Linked DNA regions of Homo sapiens: region 1 is linked to region 2. Evidence: promoter capture Hi-C in human tissues and cell types (Jung and others, 2019). All regions are on one chromosome and are shown on one strand. Each heading gives the region's core, a stretch centred on a gene start or on the middle of the fragment in contact. The rest is flanking DNA. Distances are from core to core; before and after follow the strand shown.

Region 1 (2,700 bases), core at 104-2,603, 400 kb after region 2:
ACCTTCGAATAGGGTAGGGCCACCCCCCAGTGTCTAGCCACCTTCCCTGCCCTCCCAACTCATGATCTCACCAATCTGACCCTCAAGGACACCCCTGAGGTCTCCTGTTCCTTCTTCTACCTTCTGAGCCTCAGATTCTGCATGTTAAAACCGGGACATATATATCATCTTGTAGGACTGTCATTAGGAGTCAGTGACTTGGTGTCTAAAGTAGACATAACAGGACTGGGCGCGGTGGCTCACGCCTGTAATCCCAGCACTTTGGGAGGCTGAGGCGGGCCGATCACAAGGTCAGGAGATCGAGACCATCCTGACTAACATGTTGAAACCCCATCTCTACTGAAAATACAAAAAATTAGCCGGGTATGGTGGCACACGCCTGTAGTCCCAGCTACTTGGGAGGCTGAGGCAGGAAAATCACTTGAACCTGGAAGGCGGAGGTTGCAGTGAGTTGAGATCGCGCCACTGCACTCCAGTCTGGGGCGACAGAGCGAGACTCCGTCTCAAAAATAAAATAAAATAAATAAAAATAAAGTAGACAGAACGGTGATTTGAACCCAGCAGTATTAGTTTGGTGTGGTGCTTCGGGTGTGGGTCAAGATGCTGAAACAAAAATCCCCCAAAAGACTGGGCACGGTGGCTCACGCCTGTAGTCCCAGCACTTTGGAAGGCCAAGGCGGGCGGATCACCTGAGGTCAGGAGTTCGAGACCAGCCTGGCCAACATGGTGAAACTCCGTTTCTACTTAAAAAAAAAAAAAAAAAAAAAAAATTAGCTGGGCATGGTTGCCTGTAATCCCAGCTAATCCAGAGGCTGAGGCAGGAGAATCGTTTGAACCTGGGAGGTGGAGATTGCAGTGAGTCTAGATTGCGCCATTGCACTCCAGCCTGGGCAACATGAGCGAAACTCCGTCCCCAAAAAAAAAAAAAAAAAAAATTCCCCCAAAAGACAGAGGTCACCTGCATGCCCGGGTCCCCCGCCTTCTCCAGGGGCTATCCTCAACCCTGGCCCCACACCGGGCCAGCATCCCTCCCACCTTCCCTCCTGGTCCAGGGACATGGGCGGCTTTGCCATCTGGTGCAAGAAGGCCAAGGCCCCGAGGCCAGTGCCCAAGCCCCGAGGTCTCAGCCGGGACATGCAGGGCCTCTCTCTGGATGCAGCCAGCCAGCCAAGGTGAGTCCTCAGGCACCGGAGTGGGGGTGGCCGTTGTGGGAGGATGAGGCTTAACCTGAGTCATCCCACCTCCAGTAAGGGCGGCCTCCTGGAGCGGACAGCGTCAAGGCTGGGCTCTCGGGCATCCACTCTGCGGAGGAATGACTCCATCTACGAGGCCTCCAGCCTCTATGGCATCTCAGGTGAGCACAGAGTGGGGAAACTGAGGCGTGGAAGTGGAGGGTGTGACTGTCTTGAGATTACACAACCAGGAAGGATCTTCCTACTTCCCTCTCCCAACTCTGGATTCTGTAAAGACTGAAGGAGCCAGGCTGTGCGGGTTGGGCCTCTGTGGGTGGGGTGGGCAGTTCCCTACACCTCACCTCCTCCCCTCGCACGTGTTTTTCAGCCATGGATGGGGTTCCCTTCACACTCCACCCACGATTTGAGGGCAAGAGCTGCAGCCCCCTGGTGAGTCGGGGTCTCAGGGAGCCTGGGTCTGCGCCTGCCATCACCATTCTGGGTGCCAGGACATCCCTGTATCCAGTGCCCCAGCACAGAGGGCCACATCCTGGGTTGGGGCTGGAGTGTGTCACCTCCAGGTGGCAGCTGGAAGGTCTTCAGTCTTAGAATGGGGAGGGATCCATCCAGAGAAAGCAGCTGGACACCAGTAGCTAGAGGCTGTGACAAGAAGGGGGAGGGATGCTGGGCATGGTGGCTCACGACTGTGATCCCAGCACTTTGGGAGACCAAGGCAGGTGGATCACTTGAGGCCAGGAGATCGAGACCAGCCTGGCCAACATGGTGAAACCTCGTCTCTATTGAAAATACAAAAATTAGCCAGGCGCGGCTTTAGAGACTTTGTCTCTAAAAACAAAACAAAACAAACAAGAAAAATAAGGGGGAGGGATGTCCGAGGGAATATTCGGGGAGTGTTGGGGGGAGGGCAGGACCCCTTGAAGACGAAGGAAAGGGGGTTTCAGGTTGAGATCGGGCCCAAGGCTGACCCACCTCTGCCCGCCAGGCCTTCTCTGCTTTTGGGGACCTGACCATCAAGTCTCTGGCGGACATTGAGGAGGAGGTGGGTGCAGGGCTAGGGAGGAGGTGGGTGCAGGGCTAGGGAGGAGGTGCCTGAGGGGCCGGCACCCGCCCCTCGTCCGCCCCAGGCTGTCCCAGTTTTCCCCATCCCCGCTTTGCCCCAGACACACACCATCTCTCCAGGGCAGAAGACCACTCAAGTCCCTAAGTACCCACTCTGCCATTCCTCAGTCACTCCCCCTTTGGCCCTCTCTTTACTCTGGCACCTGTTCACTCTCTCTCTCCCCATCCCCCAGTATAACTACGGCTTCGTGGTGGAGAAGACCGCGGCTGCCCGCCTGCCCCCCAGCGTCTCATAGTCCCTCACCCTTCCGCGGAAAGAGCCCCCTTACTCCACCTCCCCGCCAGCCTGGGGCCACCCCCCCTCACTGCATCCTGGGGCCACCCCCACTCACTGCATCCTGGGAACCTTCGCCCTGCAAGGCGTTTGCTATCTTCAGCCACTGGGCGG
Region 2 (2,815 bases), core at 1-2,500:
TTACCAGCATTCCTGGCCTGCACCCACTTAATGCCAACACCAAATGCCTCTCCCTATTTGTGACAACCAAAAATACCTCCAGACATTTCCCAGCGGCCTCAGGGAGACAAAAATCCCCCCCAGGGCTGAGAACCACTATTCTAAGGGATGCCAGCTTTGAAAGAAGCATTAGGATGAAAATTTGTAGGGTTCCGATTTCACGAAGCCTAGGAGAGGGAAGTCTGGATGCTCAGAGCGCAGTAGACTGTCTTGCTTTTAAAACTGTGACCAGCAAGGACCAACTACTCACTGCAAATAACGACACCCACCTAGTCTCACTGCTTACCAGTTTTCTGGAAACTCCTAAACAAGGGCTGCTTGAACAAGCCGCCTTCTAAACGCCCAGCTGGACTAAAAGGCTGGTCTTGTGCAGACCAGGGCAGCCCCCCTGAACCCGCAGCCCTGCAGAGCTCACCCGAACTTGCCAGGTTTAGAAATATTCTCTGTGAAGCCAACTTAGCAGTACTCCCCAGCAGTTAGTTAATTCACCTTCTCCCCGCTGTCAACCCACCAGAAGCCTGCAAGCAAACCTCTAGAAAAATGTAGAAGCAAAACAAACACTTCCTCCTCCCTCACCACGCCCACCCACGGGAAAGTGCCCCTTCGCACTCTCCTCCCACTTCTCAGCCAAGACGCTCCTCTTACCTTCATACCTTGGACAACTGGAAATCGCCACCCATGATGACAGCCCGGGTCACACGAAGGGGGCGAGGTGGGGCGGGGGGAGCTGACCTCAGCACCTTTAGCTTTTGGGAGTCCCTGTACCTCCACAGAGCCACTTCGGAAACTTTAGGGCGCCCCCTCCTCAAGACGATTCGGGAACAAGAGGCCAGGTCCAGCCCAGCGCGGAGGCTGTGTGGCCTTGGGCAGGTCGCTGCAACACTCTGAGCCAGTACCCGCGACCCCCACCCCAGAAGGCGACCGACCTCCTCTGTCGCCGGAGGATACTCACGGGGCCTGAGGCTGCGCGGCGCGCACGCCGTCCCGCGCCGACAGCAGCAGGAGCAGGAGCGGGAGCAACGGCCAGAGCAGGGCGCCGCTCATTTTTCGGCTCCTGGGGGGCGCCGCGCCTGGGGAGGGGGCCGGGCCAGGGCTGGGCCAGGGCCAGGGTCCGAGCGCGGCCGTCCTCGCGCCGCCGCCGGGGGCCCTTTGTTCGCAGCCCCCGCGCAGTGCGCCCGGCGCCATGCGCCCCGCTCCGCGCCCGGCCAAGCTGGGGCAGCCCCGGGCCAGCCCCCTCCCCGGACCCGCCTCGTCTCCGGGACCGCCCCGCTCGCCCCGCTCGCCCCGCTCCTGGGCGCACCCTCCCGGGACGCCTGCTCCGCCCATCTCCGGACCCCGACCCGCCCCGATCCCTTCCGGGGATCGTCCCCTCACTTACTCACCGGACCCACCCGGGCCCTGCCCGATTCCTTCCGAACCCGCCTCCTCACCCCCTACCCGGATTCGCCCCCGGATGCCCCCCTCCCCACCAGCCCCGCCTCGGACCCGACCCCCCACCGCCCCCACTCTCCCTCTCCTCTCCACCCAGCGTCCACTCGGAACCTGTCCCTTCCCTGGCCTCTCCCTCCCTCCCTCCCCAGCCAGCCCCTTATGGCCCCCTCCCCGGGCCCGCCCCTCACCAGGGGCCCCTGGGTCTGGACGCCGCCTGCAACCCCGATCCCACAGGCGCCGCCGTGCCCTAAGCCCTGGCCTGTATCTAGTGCCCAGTGCAGTGCGTACAGCCCAAGGAGCAGAGGACCCTTTGGGGAAACAGTCTAGCCAGGGGTCGAACCTCCCAGACTCACATCTGCCCCAGGTCCCTATCTGTGCTCTCTGCTCCCCTCTCCCCCACCCCCACTGTCCACAAATCCCTTGGGCCCGTCCCCTCTCTCGCTGGGCCTCAGAGTCCCCCTTTCCCCTTCATACAGCAGGGGTGGATGGGCACCCCCTTTCTCTCCAAGAGCAGGGTGTCCCCTCCTGCCCCTCCCCGTGTGGCCACCTCAGTGATGGTCCTGCTGTCCTAGGTCCCACTGGCAGGCGGCACATCCTATACCATGTCCAAGTCCTGGACCCCCTCCTTCCAGTGTGGAACCCCCTTCCCCCAGCTACCAACTGCCCTTCTTCTAAAATTCCAGTGCTGACCACACCCCCTCCTGCCCGGAATCCTCGGGGCTCCCTGTTTATTTTACATTTTATTTTTATGTTTTGAGACCAGAGTTTTGCTCTGTTGCCCAGGCAGGAATTTAGTGGTGCAGTCACAGCTCACTGCAGCTTCAGACTCCTGGAGAGTAGCTGGGACTACAGGTGCAAGCCCGCACCCAGCTAATTTTTATATATTTTTTTTTAGAAACGGAGTCGCACTGTGTTGCCCAGGCTGGTCTTGAGCACTGGGCTCAAATGATCCTCCCTCCTCAGCCTCCCAAAGTGCTGGGATTACAGGTGTGAGCCACCACATCCAGCCAGGGCTTCCCGTTTATTGAGACCAAATCTAAACTCTGGCTTTGATGGCAGAGACCTCAGCCTAGTTCCTCCAACACCCTGTTCTTACTCCACTGCCTGCTTCTGCCTAATCTCTGTCTTCCTCTACCTGCCTCCTTTGCCAGTCCAACTCCTGATCCTTCCAGGAAACTCAAGGGAAGCTTCTCTTGCCCCCTCCCTGCCCCTAGGGATGTGGGTCCTCTGGGGGCTTCTCAGCCCTGTCAACAGCCTTTGGACCCAACACTGATCACCCAGGCAGCACCAAGCCCTGGGCTGGGCAATGAGGACCCTGGGACATACAGGACCTGCTGCCACTGAG

Evidence for each region. Contacts are between HindIII fragments. The study calls those that stand out against the background at their distance.
Region 1: a contact is called between a fragment that was not itself captured here and the fragment with the promoter of CPAMD8 in region 2, in 1 of the 25 tissues and cell types used here (thymus).

What each region holds. Positions count from the first base shown.
Region 1 is chr19:17,422,446-17,425,145 of GRCh38, forward strand. It overlaps MVB12A (multivesicular body subunit 12A), which reads left to right. Exons shown (of 9, transcript NM_138401.4): 4 at 1-13; 5 at 1,053-1,172; 6 at 1,248-1,354; 7 at 1,561-1,622; 8 at 2,176-2,232; 9 at 2,486-2,700. The coding sequence ends at 2,548. Among named protein-coding and RNA genes, the nearest start is that of MVB12A, 3.7 kb to the left of the region's middle. RefSeq lists an enhancer at 1,408-1,933. The HindIII fragment of the contact is 7,886 bases long and covers 1-2,700 here.
Region 2 is chr19:17,025,560-17,028,374 of GRCh38, forward strand. CPAMD8 (C3 and PZP like alpha-2-macroglobulin domain containing 8) reads right to left here and starts at 1,251. Exons shown (of 42, transcript NM_015692.5): 1 at 992-1,251. The coding sequence starts at 1,083. RefSeq lists an enhancer at 1,423-2,331. The HindIII fragment of the contact is 4,679 bases long and covers 1-2,815 here.